Regions from separate parts of the Homo sapiens genome. Here all the other regions are linked to region 1. Evidence: promoter capture Hi-C in 16 types of primary human blood cells and fetal thymus (Javierre and others, 2016). All regions are on one chromosome and are shown on one strand. Each heading gives the region's core, a stretch centred on a gene start or on the middle of the fragment in contact. The rest is flanking DNA. Distances are from core to core; before and after follow the strand shown.

The links. The method cuts DNA at HindIII sites, captures the fragments that hold promoters and counts their contacts. A CHiCAGO score of 5 or more calls a contact.
Region 2: a fragment that was not itself captured here is called in contact with the fragment with the promoter of NCOA2 in region 1 in 2 of 17 cell types (neutrophils and total B cells); the score reaches 6.1 in neutrophils.
Region 3: a contact is called between a fragment that was not itself captured here and the fragment with the promoter of NCOA2 in region 1, in 3 of 17 cell types (neutrophils, M0 macrophages and M1 macrophages). The highest score is 9.1, in neutrophils.
Region 4: a contact is called between a fragment that was not itself captured here and the fragment with the promoter of NCOA2 in region 1, in 1 of 17 cell types (neutrophils). The highest score is 5.8, in neutrophils.
Region 5: a contact is called between a fragment that was not itself captured here and the fragment with the promoter of NCOA2 in region 1, in 1 of 17 cell types (naive B cells). The highest score is 5.8, in naive B cells.

The regions. Positions count from the first base shown.
Region 1 is chr8:70,402,498-70,405,197 of GRCh38, reverse strand. It overlaps NCOA2 (nuclear receptor coactivator 2), which reads left to right and starts at 1,390. Exons shown (of 23, transcript NM_006540.4): 1 at 1,390-1,498. RefSeq lists silencers at 614-773, 1,464-1,773, 1,814-2,103, 2,134-2,700 and an enhancer at 874-993. The HindIII fragment of the contact is 4,231 bases long and covers 98-2,700 here.
Region 2 is chr8:69,754,742-69,757,479 of GRCh38, reverse strand. SLCO5A1 (solute carrier organic anion transporter family member 5A1) reads left to right here. Exons shown (of 10, transcript NM_030958.3): 4 at 1,839-2,056. Among named protein-coding and RNA genes, the nearest start is that of SLCO5A1-AS1, 78 kb to the left of the region's middle. The HindIII fragment of the contact is 1,093 bases long and covers 821-1,913 here.
Region 3 is chr8:69,676,552-69,679,251 of GRCh38, reverse strand. SLCO5A1 (solute carrier organic anion transporter family member 5A1) reads left to right here. Exons shown (of 10, transcript NM_030958.3): 9 at 2,579-2,643. Among named protein-coding and RNA genes, the nearest start is that of SLCO5A1-AS1, 160 kb to the left of the region's middle. The HindIII fragment of the contact is 3,970 bases long and covers 1-2,700 here.
Region 4 is chr8:69,728,929-69,731,628 of GRCh38, reverse strand. The region is part of intron 5 of SLCO5A1 (solute carrier organic anion transporter family member 5A1); the gene reads left to right. Among named protein-coding and RNA genes, the nearest start is that of SLCO5A1-AS1, 100 kb to the left of the region's middle. The HindIII fragment of the contact is 6,128 bases long and covers 1-2,700 here.
Region 5 is chr8:69,658,609-69,661,463 of GRCh38, reverse strand. It overlaps SULF1 (sulfatase 1), which reads right to left. Exons shown (of 23, transcript NM_001128205.2): 23 at 552-2,855. Among named protein-coding and RNA genes, the nearest start is that of SULF1, 170 kb to the right of the region's middle. The HindIII fragment of the contact is 267 bases long and covers 1,254-1,520 here.

The DNA.
Region 1 (2,700 bases), core at 141-2,640:
AAGACATGTTTAAAAGCATGGGCTTTGGAGCTCACCAGAACTGGGCTCACATCCTCTCCAACTACTGGCTGTGACCCTGGGCAAATTACTTTAAGCTTCAATTTTTTGTGTGAAGTGAAAAGCGGCAATGACTTCGGAAGGTTTGAGGATTAAGGCCTATAGCATATATACATCACCTAGCACAGTCAGATTCACAGTAAGTGTTCAATAAACACTCTTATTGTCTACCGCAAGTGACCTTTCTCATTATAAGATTAAAATCAGGGAATATGTTCCTCTCATAGTTTGATAACTGCCATTAAACAAAAGTTTTTTTTTTCAACTAATTACCGTATAAGTTGGAAAAAAAACTTGCTTTTCCAAAGCGTAAAACAGATTGGTCTAAGTAACACTTAAATGGGGGTTCTCGCATTTTCAGTGCCAATCTCCTACGTCCCCTCAGTACTTTGTTCACGGATGTCTAGAGAATGGACTTTCCAATACAAACTTATGATTTCATGATGTGCCGAAAATTCTCAACCAGGTTAAGTTTCACACTCTGTGTGCAGCATTTGCTTTATCCCGCAATTGCCGGGTGGTGCCCCTTCCAGCTCCCACAGTCGCGCCTCTCCATCCCCTCTGGAGCTAGGACTGCAATGGGAGAAGCCTCTCCCTGTTGGAGCCGTAGGGGACTTGACGGATGCGGGGCGCCTCCGGGGAGCAGCGGCAGGACCGGGAGTTGGGTAGGGTGAGGTGCGCCCGAGGGGGTGCAGGGTGCTGGCCGAAGGGTCCGGCCGGACGGGCGCGAGGGTCCTCTGCTGGCGACCCTGGAACTCGGCTCTCCCCGATCTTCGTCCTGGGGCACCGTCCCTGCCGTCTGCAGCCCCCAGGCCCCACTGCCTCTAACTCAGCGGCCCAGGCCCGTCCCAGTCGCTAGTTTTCTTTTTGGCATTGCCCTTTGCCCTCCCATGCAGTCCTCTGTTGACTCTCTCTTCAGTTCCAGTCACCTCTAGGTCACCCTCCCTCTACCACAGTCACCCATTTTGTCCCCTGTCCCCTTACTCTTCTTCACCTCTCCCCGGGCCGCCTTCTCAGAGGACTCTGCCGACGGAGATGCTGCGGACCCCGCGGCCAGGGGCTGCTCCCCGGACAACCCTGCGTCCACCTTTGCCCCTTCCTCGGGGGCGCGAGAGGCAAGTTTCCGCCCCGTCCTTTTCCCGGTGACAGGACTTGGCGGCGGCCACTGCCGGGGAGGCAGAGGGAGGGACGGCCTGGCTCCCGAGCCCCCTCCCCTGCTCGCGAGCTCGCGCTGTCTGTCTCTCCGCAAGTGCGGAGACGCGGAGGAGGAGGAGGAGGAGGAGGAGGAGGAGGGAGTTGGGGGAGGATCTCCATTGAAATAAACAACCAGGCAGCAGTTATTAACACGGGAACATGGCGGCCGCAGCCTCGGCTACAGCTTCGGCGGCGAAGGTCAGCGCCGACGGCAGCCGGCACCTGACGGCGTGACCGACCCGAGCCGGTAACCGCGCCTTCCCCCGGGGCCGCGAGGGCGGGCGGGGGGCGGGCGGCAGGCGGGGGGCGCCGCGTCCCCACCCCCGGCCGCGACTGCCCTTCCTGCGCCGAGCTCCGACAGAGCCGTGCGCCTCCGAGAGGCTGTTTTTGTGTGCGGGGACCGCCGCCGGAGTGCGCGGAAAACGGGAGTTGCATCCCGGAGGCGCAGCGACGCTGGGGAGTTGGGGCTTGGGGGTGGGGAGGGCGGGAAGCGACGGGGAGACGCGGAGTCCCCGGGAGAGAAAGGAGGCGCTCCAGCGCCTTGCGAGAGCTCAGGAGACGAGTCCCGGAGCGCGAGGCGGGCGGAGGCTGCAGCCCGCGGCGCGGGCGAGAGGTGAGCGCCGAGGCGCGGCCGGGGGTGCGGGCGCGGCCCCCGCCCCGAGGAGCGAGTGCCCATTGCCCAGCCCGGTGCGGGGTCGGCGGAGACCGAGGCTCTAACCCCTCGGGGGCAGCGCGGCAGAGCCGAGAAGGTGAATCCTGGGAAGGTGCATTCTTTAATGGAAGCGCGGAGCGGCTGCAGCGGAGAGTGGGAGCCGGGCGAGGGGAGGCAGGACTCGGGAAGTGCTGGGGGTGTGTGAAGGTGAAGCGGGGTGTCGGGGCGGCCGGCGAGCTGCAGCGCGGGGCGGGGAAGGGGAGCCGCGGCCCGGCGGGTGGCCCGGGCCCGTGTCAGCCCCGGGGGTGGGGGGCGAGGGGCGCCGAGCACCGCGGGCGGACGGGAAGGAGCTGCGGCGGGCGGGGCGGGCGGCGCGCTGGGGCCGAGCAGGCCGGGCCGTGGTGGGGGCGGGGAGCCGGGGGCCGGGCCCCGGCGGCGCCGAGCCGGGCTCGCCCCTGACTGAACTTTCTGGGTGCGGGCGTGTATGCAGGAGGCGCGCTGGGGCCGGGGCCGGGGGCGGGAGGCGGACCGGGAGGTTCCGGGTTGGCTCGCCAGCGCCCCCTTTTCTCGCCCCCTTCTCTCCGCCCCTGAAGGGACAGGCCCTCGGGGCCCCAGGCGGGAAGCGGGAGGGGCCCTGTGGCCGCCTCGCGACGGTCACGCCCCGGGCACGGGGACCCGGCCCTCTCGGGCCCCTGGGGGGTGCTGGGGGAGGGGGCCGGGGTCGTCGCTGCCGGCTGCGCTCCCCGCCTCCTCCCCTCGGGGGAGTCCCAGAGGCGCCTCTTCCGAGACCGGGGGTG
Region 2 (2,738 bases), core at 118-2,617, 650 kb after region 1:
CTTAAACTCCTGACCTCAGGTGATCCACCCATCTCGGTGCTGGGATTACACCTCAGGTGATCCACCCAAAGTGCTGGGATTACAGGCATGAGCCACCGTAACCAGCTGACATTTTTAAAATTAAAACTGTCTCTTTCAATTTATTTATTCAGCATGTTTTTTTGAGTACCTAATCTGTGTCAGGCACTGGGCTGGTGATTACATTCTGAATAACTGAGATTGCTGGAAGTCTGCCCCGAACAAACTTCTCAAAATAAAGCCCTTTACTGACTATCTTAAAATCTTCATTTGATGTAACTTTAAATATCTTTGAAAATAGCACACTAAATTATTAATGACTAATTGTAGGAATCATTCTCTCAACTGTGACCTTTAGCAGCTGATAACAGCACTTTAATAGAAACATTATTTTAAAAAATGAATTTTCACTTTGCAATGGATCTATAGTCTTACCTGATTGAATTCAGCGTTAATACTTATGATGCTGCTTGCATTCTGGTTACAGTTGATGGGAATGTGTTGAGCATTTATGAACTTGGAAGCTTGAATGGCAGAGTTTGGAGGTGAGGAATCATAGTTAGAACGTGGCTACCCTGTTAGGGAGTGCCAGGGACCTCTGATTGCTAAGGAAATGTTGAAAGGGAACTGAGAAATTGCCCCACGGGGCATCATGCAGTCAAGAAGCCCAGGGCTCTAATACTACAATTTCATTCTACTCCCTGTGTTTGCTTCCTAGTGCTCTGCAACGTGGCAATCTCAGGTGAATTTCACGACAGAATTCTGAGTCTAATAGCTCCTGTTCTACTTCTTTTAGGAAGCTTTCCGATACACATTAATTTCCCCTCTCTGAATTTTGGTAGCACTCATAATCTGTACCATATAACCTAATATTTAATTATATACATTTTGCATTTCTTAGAGGTTTCTTATATTTTTGGCTTGCTTATGAACAGGTTGTAGGTTCTTGAAGGCAAGGACTAAGTTTAAATGTCTTTGTTGGTAACCCTCATACTTGGTGAAGTATTGTGAAGGCCAGCTAAGTGGGAGGCAATACATTCTCTTTTTATTTTTTTTAAGTTTTGCTCTGTCACCCAGGCTGGAGTGTGGAGTGCAGTGGCCTGATCTCTGCTCACTGCAACATCCGCCTCCCAAGTTCAAGTGATTCTCCTGCCTCAGCCTCCCGAGTAGCTGGGATTACAGGTGCCCACCACCACACCTGGCTAATTTTTGTATTTCTAGTAGAGACAGGGTTTCACCATGTTGGCCAGGCTGGTCTCAAACTCCTGTTTCAGCCTCCCAACGTGCTGGGATTATAGGTGTGAGTCACCGCGCCCAGCTGGGTCAATACATTCTTAAGTGTTTGCAGAAAAATATTTGAATATTCTCAATAATTTAAAACATATTTCACATGGGATATTAATGCTTTTCTTATGACAAAAAAAAGTCTATATTGGTCCACATAACATGCTATTGTCTACATTATTTTTCTATTGAATTTATAATTTAGGGATTTATCATAAAATACACATTGTAGAAGGTTAGCAATGCTAGCAGAACTAACTCATTGGTGCTCAAAAATACTTGAATGAAATTCGAATCAGGTTGCTGATTATAATATTCAGTATAACACTGGTATAATTATTGAGTAGATTTCTCATTTATATCACAGAAAGAGAGAATTCCTTCATTTTCTTAGTTTGCTCAACTTCCTACTGCTTTACAGTTGATTACAAAAAGTTTTCTTCAAAATTTTTTCACCACAAACTTCTGCTTTACTAATTTGTTCTCACTCACAAAAGAAAAGACGTAAATGCTATTCACATTTTCCAATTTTTTAGGTGGAGTGGATTCCTCCTTTGTGCCATTGCAATGTTTCTTGTGATATTCCCAATGTTTACTTTCCCAAAAAAGCTTCCACCTCGACACAAGAAAAAGAAAAAGAAAAAATTTTCTGTTGATGCTGTTAGTGATGACGATGTTCTGAAGGAGAAATCAAACAACAGTGAACAAGCGGACAAAAAAGTTTCTTCGATGGGATTTGGAAAGGATGTCAGAGGTAAAGTATACCTCTTGAATAAATACATGCATGGCACTTTGATCAGTGCTACTCATAGTGTGGTCCCAGGCCCATGCTGTCTACCCACTGTCTGTGGCCAGATAAGTACTAAGATTGAGAGTAAGTGTTGCAAAACTCTTAGAAACTTGACAGAGTAATTTTTTTGCCTGTTGCATCTAAGAATAATTTAAAAATTAAGGTTATATTTTGTATGTTATTTAAAAATTAATTTTTAAATAATTCATCATTTGTGTATTTTGCAAAAGTATTAGTAGATGACAGACTAGAAATAATAATTTAAAAAAATGGTTTTTCCTCACACACAGTTTGAGAAGCACTGATTTAGATCATAAAGAAACAGATGTCTATATATGTTATTTACTATAATTAGAGATGTCTGATTTTTAAAATATTAAAAATCAAGTGCATTGTGCCATGGAGGGTTTATTTCAGGGGAATAGTGGCTTTGGCAGTGTGGTTTGATGCCTACATAAGTATAATACCTACCACTAGAAAGGGATCTCACTTAGCAGCTCTGTCAAATGCTTGCATGTGGCCCCAGAGAAGGGTGGCCAGGGGATGGACCTCCAAATGCAGTGTAAAAGCATCCAGAAGGTCTTGGTGATATATGGTTTATTTTTTTTCATTTTTATTTCTCTTAAAAATACTGATTATATTAAAC
Region 3 (2,700 bases), core at 136-2,635, 730 kb after region 1:
TCAGATATTTGCCTGGTGAACTTAGGAGGGATTTTTCCCTGTTGGGAAGGGAAAGAAAGGTTGTAACATTTCATACTTTGGAAAGTTCTTTATTCAGTTGGGTTATATTCTTACTGTATAATGAAACGTCTTTTGATGTTTTTGATTCCTGAAGTCTCTGCCCTACGAGGTTCAACTTCAGGAGTTGAAAGTCATCACTCTGTCAGCTGTGAGAAGCTGGACCCCAGAGGAGGGCAGGAAGTAATTTGAGAAAGTTGCTAAATCGTGCATACAGCAAAGGCTATTATCTTCAACCTTATAGATAGTTACTGCCTTCAGGATCAGTGGTGATTTATGCTGGGCCTGCAATTTGAAATGCTGAGTTCATTAATTTTACTATCATATAAAATTTCAGAGTTGAGTCAAGAAAAGGGCATATTGGGGAATGTGATTTCTCCCTTTTTTTTTTTTTCAGTTTTTCAGGCTGTGCTTTCTTTGCCATATCTTGTTTGGATTTTTTGTTTATAAGAGGACATGGAAGCTACTTTTGTCCTATTAAAAATGTTGGCACTGGTGTTCCTGGACCAAAATGATGGTCGGGCTGCTATTTTTTTGCACTGCAATAACGTGATACAGATGAACAGGGGAGGAAGAGGGTTTTTATTTCTGTAACCAGTTACAGGGAGAAGGCCTGGAAATAAACACCAGACCAACTCAAAATTACAAAGTTTATTAGAGCTTATATACATTCTAAGCTATCTGTCTACGTGTAAGTGTGCATTCATCTAAAGACATAAGTGATTAATTTCTTTTAATTTATAACTAAGATCTGAATCTTGAAGACCTTCTTCTGGAGCCTCAGTAAGTTTACTTAATCTAAATGGGTCCAGGTGCTGGGGTGATTACCCTTATCTTGTCTCCTGCTAAATCACGGAGGTTTGGGGAGTTCCTTCAGACCCCCAATAAACCTGTTTATGGAGGCCTAGGGAGTTTTTTCAGACCCCCAATAAAACTTGTTTAATCCTAAATGGATCCTGTTAAGAATTTGTTCATTATTTTGTCGTGCTTTAAGGCCCAGGAAAGACTTAGGCAAAATTCTTGGTGGACTTTTGTTACATTCCAGCATTTGTATAAGGGCACTGGCTTTTAATATTTAACTTAAACACTCAGTCTGTACTGAAACAGTTGTTATGGAGGCCTGCCACGCTGATACATTCACATCGGTGTGTTGATATTTACAGTAAGGACTGCAGTGGACAAAGGAACTGGGCAGCGTGGTGAAGCCAGAAGAGCTCACCCATGGGTCTGGGCAGCTTCTGCCCAGATTAGGGGGTGCAGTGCAGGGAAGGGGATTAGGGGGGATTAGGGGGTGCAGTGCAGGGAAGGAATGAAGAAAGGGAGTCAGTTCTTACTCTTTCTCCAGGCTCCTCAGATGCCACAATGCTGGGCACCTTGCAGGAAGCACCTGCTGAGATGTCATTGCTTAGCAAGGGCAGTTGGCTGCACCAGATGTATTCTGGCTTCCTTCCCACTTGGTGCTGAATCAGGCATTTCCCAGCAAAGCTGTTCCTTGACAGCCAGATAGTAGTGCATGAAAGGCCCACTGGTTTGTTTACTCAGTTCTTCCAGCAGCAGATATTTATGGAATAACAACCTGTGTGCAGCACTTTGCAAATTGCTCTGAGAAATAAAGAAATTGGGGAAAAGGTGACAAGGGCACTGGTCTTGGGAAAGTTCCTATTATATACCATACTCTCATGGGTATGTGATGGAGAGGTTAAGGTACTGCAGCATTAAAAAGACATGAATCATTCATAAATTTACTCAAATAATCTTATTCTTTGCACTTTAATTCCTCAAGAGATGTTAAATAACCCATTGGCTACTTTTTCTTTTGGTGTTCATAAATGGCAAATCGCCAGTTGGCTTCTAACCTAAAATTTCAGAAAAGGAGCCCTTTAATCTTTGCTAATTACAGAACCAGTTGACTCCAATCTTCCTGTCACATGGGAATAACTTGGAGTATAAGTTTTTAAAAAAGAAAAAAAGATGTGGTTGGAGGGCTTATGCTTCCTCTGATCTTTGACTTGTTTCCTATACATTTTTTGAATATACTTTTATTCTTTACTCTTCTTTCTTCCTGTTTTGGAAGAATTATTGGAGTAATTTTCAATGTATGCATCTACCACTCTGGAAGATGCAGGCACACAGGCAAAAAAACAAAAACAAAAACAAAAACAAAAAAACCGTGCAGTATTTAAGATGAAATTCTATAATTAAAAAAAAATGGATCTGATTTTGGAAGCTCAGTTAGAGGCATTCCAGCTTCTTCAGCCAAAAGCCTTTAACCCTCTACCAGTATTTTTGTAGAAACAATTAGAGATAGTCAGAGTTTCTTTGATGTCTACATTGGGAAAACCTTTATTCAGGGATTTAGCCACCAGCAATCTTGTGTGGCTATTGTTAGTAAATAATAGTGAATTAAATATTTTGGCATGGCATCTTTAGTCCCTGGCTCTGCACAAAGCCGACTTGATTTGACATTCATTTTCTTGGGGCTACTATTTAAAATGCATTTCCTTCTTTCCCTTCACTGTAGGTCCGTAGAAGATGAGGAGAGACCTTTTGCACTGGGAATGCAGTTTGTTTTGTTGCGAACACTTGGTACGTCCCTGAATTTCCAAGTGTACCTCTTAGTTCCTCTTTGCAGATGGCAAATTT
Region 4 (2,700 bases), core at 133-2,632, 670 kb after region 1:
GTGCTAATGAGAACTTTTGTAAGAGCTCATAGTGGACAAAAAGTCAGAACACTCAGCTTCTCTTTATCAATCAACTAATTTAAGGAATGTTTGGGTGTCTACCATGTGGCAGGTTCTTAGCCAGTGCTCTAATGGCAGTTAAACAGGGTTCAATTGCTCTTTAACAATGTTTTTAAGACTCAGATGACCCAAAATGATAAGAAACACATTGGCATTTCTTGCAGGAAAGGATACTACATGGCATCAGCATTAAAGTAAAGATGATTAGGTTGGTGCAAAAGTAATTGCGGTTTTTGCTGTTGAAAGTAATGACAAAAACTGCAATTACTGGCTGGGTGTGGTAGCTCATGCCTGTAATCCCAGCACTTTGGGTAGCTGAGGCAGGTGGATCACTTGAGGTCAGAAGTTTGAGACTAGCCTGGCCAGCATGGCGAAACCCCGTCTCTACAAAAAATACAAAAATTAGCCAGGCGTGGTGACACGTGCCTATAATCCCAGCTACTTGGGAGGCTGAGAGGCATGAGAATCACTTGAACCTGGGAGGCAGAGGTTGTAGTGAGCCGAGATTGTGCTACTGCACTCCAGCCTGGGCAATAGAGCCAGACTTCATCTCAAAAAAAAAAAAAATTGCAATTACTTTTGCACCAACCTAATACTTTGCAGCCACAGGCCATCTCACATGCTTGAATATTTTTATATTCAAGCCATCTCACATGCTTGAATATTTTTAGTATTTTCTTGGCCCCATAGATTCCTGCTATGTAACCAGTTTCAACAGCCGAGCTCTCCAGGGGTCTTAGTGAGACTGGTTACAATAAACATGAAATGAGCATGTTTGGAAAAATGATTTAATCTAAGATTTTAGAGAAGGAAGAAATTACAGAGTTCATGCTCATTTTTGTCAATAAACAATGCTGACAAGCTGGTACAAACCATCCTCAACCACTTAGGACCCATAGTTATAAGGCAACACTGTTCATGAACATGTTTTGTGCCTTGACTAGGAGTCAGTGCCCTACAGATGCACGTTGATGATTTGGCAAGACAGCTCAGGCTAATTCCAGGCCTGTGTAGTTACTCCTCGCAGGGACTCCCAGGGCTTTCGCAGTACATAAGGTGGACAGTGTTTTTCTCTCCAGGTCTGTTTTCTAGTCTAGAAAACAATAACTTGAACTGAAATGAACTCTATAATTCTTCCTTCCCTAAAATCTTAGATTAAATAACTTTCCCAAAACCCTGTGTACCAAATACACATTTATTCTTACCTTCCCTATAGAGTTATATTGTTTTCTTAAAAGGGACTAGTTACTAACCAATTCATCACTCTGGTATTTGTAGTAATGTTGCATCCCCACAAACTCTGGCCATGTCCAGAATCAATATTATCTGTTTTGTTTTGCTGTGGGCAGCCTAATGTAGTACACAGACCTCTCTGAATCCCAGATCTGTGACTTAACTAGATGTAGGCTTTTAGCCAAGTTGCTTACCCACTCAGAGTCTCAGTTTCTCATTTGTAAAATGTGAGTGATCATTCCCCAGGGCTACTGTAAAATATTAAGTGAGCTAATTAGATCTTAAAGCATTTGGTATACAGTAGATAATCAAGAAAAATCAGTTTCTCCTCTTTTTCTTTTATGAAACTGTGCTAAATTTAAATTTCCTTTAGGAAATCTTGTTAGGTTTTCTGATTTTAAAACAAATTGTATTGGTCTACTTTACAGTGGTAATTGGAAGGCTTTTTGTTAAATCCCACCCGCGAAGAGAGGTAATACAGTCATATAAAATGGTAAGAGGTGACTATTTTCATCTTGATCATAGGAGTAAAGTAGTGGAAACTTTCTGGGGCGGGAGACAGTAAGGAGTCTTAGGGAGGGATGTCCATGCTTGCAGCATATTACGAATCTCTCTCTCACACACACACACGCTCTCTCTCTCTCTCTTTGAATTATTCCAAATCAGTTCGCCAAATGACCAGCTTCTTGTTTGGCCAGTTCCCCCAATGACCGTAATTTCTTATATGATTCTTTCTCTTTATTTACTAGTTTTCAGAGTAAAAATTTATATTCTAGCAAATTTATATAGTGGCCAATAATTTGTTAAAAGTATTATTAACTCATTTTTAGGTGTTTGATGTGCTTTACTCCATTGCAGTTATCTTTTTTTTTTTTTTTTTTTTTTTTTTGTTGGGACGGAGTCTCGCTCTTTCGCCCAGGCCGGACTGCAGTGGCACGATCTCGGCTCACTGCAAGTTCCGCCTCCCGGGTTGATGCCATTCTCCTGCCTCAGCCTCCCAAGTAGCTGGGACTACAGGCGCCCTCCACCTCGCCCGGCTAATGTTTTGTATTTTTAGTAGAGACGGGGTTTCATCATGTTAGCCAGGATGGTCTCCATCTCCTGACCTCGTGATCCGCCTGCCTCGGCCTCCCAAAGTGCTGGGATTACAGGCGTGAGCCACTGCACCGGGCGCAGTTATCATTCTTTTTGATGCTCCAGTTGCCCAATCTTTGGCCATTGGGAGCCCCTTAAAGTCAGTACCTGTGTCCTTTGGCTCTACCTCAGTAGTCTTTGTGGTTTCTGTCATGACAAAAGGTGACTCACTTACCTTCCACATTTCCTGCCCTGGACCTCGGATCAGTCGTATATCTGCAAGGAATCTTGGTTTCTTTGACAGGAAAATGGTACTTGGACACCATCATCTGG
Region 5 (2,855 bases), core at 138-2,637, 740 kb after region 1:
GGAGATTTGGAACAGACAGAAGGAAGCATATGGAATTTGTGTATCAAAAAACTTGAGATCTTGAAGGGTGTTTAGGTTTCCACCCAAGTTCCTGGTTCCTGAAGAACCGACACTGCCTTCAGTGGGTCTGTTCTCTTGGTTTTGAAAAATTCCATTTTACTGCCCAGAACCATTTTTGGTTCTGCCCAGACCTGATTTGCAGGGCCCCCGTGGAAAATGAAAATGTGGGGCCCCTTGTTAAAAAATTATTAAGGATTTCAAGGCGGTGACATCAGAGCATTAAACCAAGTGCTGGCCCTTTGTGACCATCTAGGTTGCCTGCCGGGAAAGCTACCTTGGCGCTGCCTCTGCTGCCTCCCTCAAGACAGCAATGAGGTAAATCCGTGGTGAAGTTGTTAATCTGAGAACGTTCTATAACACATTGACTTCAGCTCCATTTTATAAGTTTGGTTAGTATTCAATCATGTAAATAGAGATCATGACTCAATTTTACTTGCAAGAAATGGGTGTACCACAAAAACTTGGTTAAGTTCATTTCTCTGAAACAGAAAAAAGTTTAAACACCTTTTATTTGAAGAAATATTGCTTCTAGACTTTCCTGAAGCCAGAATTGTTCTATAAAAGTATCATGGAATATTATACATGATTAAAAAACAGAGTATGCTTCCTAATAACTTGAAATCTTTTTACAAAGCACATTATTCATGATCATAAATATGTTTGTTCTGTCATCCCACCGATGATACACACATCAGGCAAGCAGCTAATTTGAACATATGTACAGAGTCTATGATAAAGATTTAAAGTTACCAAAAAGATTCAGCTATAACATATTAAATTTTCTTTAAAAGAGTTTACCATAAACACTTAAAGAAAACATAATTTATCTAAGCACTTGAATTATCTAAAAATAAGAAGAAAACCTCTCTTAGGGTAAGCAAAAACACATCATCTTGGGGAGCTGAATAGGAGGGTACTGATGACTCAGTGAGGTAATCCTTTAGCTGGTATTTAAAAACCTAATACACAACAAGGATATTTTCAAGAATACAGATTTTCAAAAGCAATTTTGAACTATGTCTTTAAAAGATATCAGAACTTGGTGAAGGTCTTACAAATAATCATAGAACACAATGTTAAGAAATTAACTTCTCTTGTGGTATGTTGAAATTGTGGAGCATTCATGATTTTCTTTTATTGAGAAGTTCTTGGTGTAAATTCAAAACTAGTCATATTTTATCAACATTTAAGCTTCTTAGTCATGCCAAGAAAACCAAAAAAGATGAAAATAAAAGATCTTTAGATCTTTTTCTCCTGTCAAGAAAATAACCCAAAATATAGCAATCTTAAAGGTATGATGTATGATGAACGCTTTGAGGCTAGGCACAGAGAGAGCAGGCAATCTTCATTTTGTTTACTTATTTATTTATTTTCACCACCAACATTATTAGCCATGCCTTTCTGCTAATCGATTTTAGCAAGTCGAGGTAAAACACATGCAACATTTTCTGGCAAAAGCTTAATGTCAAACAATATGTGATCCATACTGTGTGTCGTCCTTGGGGGTTTATTTGACTTTGTCACAATGACAGCCAACAGTGAGACTGATAAGCCTGTAAAAATAAAAAAATAAGACTAATCAAATAGACATGGCATTTTAATCTCAAAGTGCAAAATCATCTAACTGAAAATGACGGCATTGAAAAATTCCAGTGGTTAAAAATGAATCAAAACTTCATTACGCAGGCAGTGGAAGTGTGTTGAAAGATTTACCAGGGGTGTCAAGTTTTAGACACTCAGAAAGGCACCATTCTAGCCATCTTGATTGGATAACATGTATATACTTATGTCCCTACGATATTCAAAAGATAATACTGTTTTAGTACAAAACAAACAAACAAGCAAAAAATCAAAACCAAGCCAACCCAAATATCCCCAGCCTTTCTTTCTACTCTTGGCAGATAGTAAATTATAACGATGAGTCTCCGTGTGCACACCGCTTGCTCACATGCTCACTAGCTTCTACTGCACAAAGGTACCCAGGGTAGCTTGGAATGTTGGTGGCTGTGATTACCTTTATTAGTTTACAAATAAAAAAGTTAAAAAGAAATACTGTGTTTAGGGTAAGGTAACAGTTTCATCTAATCAGAGGAGAGTGAAGAGGAGGCGCTGCCTTCTAGGTGCTGTGACTTCTCCTTTTCGTGATTCTTCTCCACCTTGGTCAACATCTTCCCCGCTATGCTGGAATTACTTCGGTGTTCTGCGGTGGCCATGGTGAACATCTGATGAACTGAAATTCCATCGGAATGCACAGGAAGATATAGTTGATCTTCAAAAATGTCCTTTCCAGGACCACCATACTGGGGAAGTTCTTTCGGGTGCCTGCGAATGGGCTGCAGCCTGGGGCTGGGCCCGAGCTCTAGCTCTGTCATGCCATCGCCACTGAAATCGGTTTCCAGATGATTAGTCTCTTCATGCCCCGTCCATTTTTCGGTTTTTCTCCAGTGTTCAGAATTCAAATGATTAACTTCTGGAATGTCGTTATTCCATTCAAGTTTACTCTCTGGACTTAATGTTGGTCGGTTCAAATGCAGGGTTTGAAGGTCAGCTGGCAAGGTCAAATGAGGTGTTTTCCCAACCTTATGCCTTGGGTCTTCATCTGAGTCAGCAGAGGCCATCTCCATTGACACAGCGTGCTCAGCAGAGACAACCAAGAACCCGTCACTTTGAGCAGTTTGAGTCTTATTTGTTTTATTTTGCTCATAGTGACTCTTCAGCAGTGCAAATACTCTATCTAAATCCTTCAAGTAATTAGTCCAGTCCACCAGACTAAGTCTGTAGTTTTGTCTGTACTC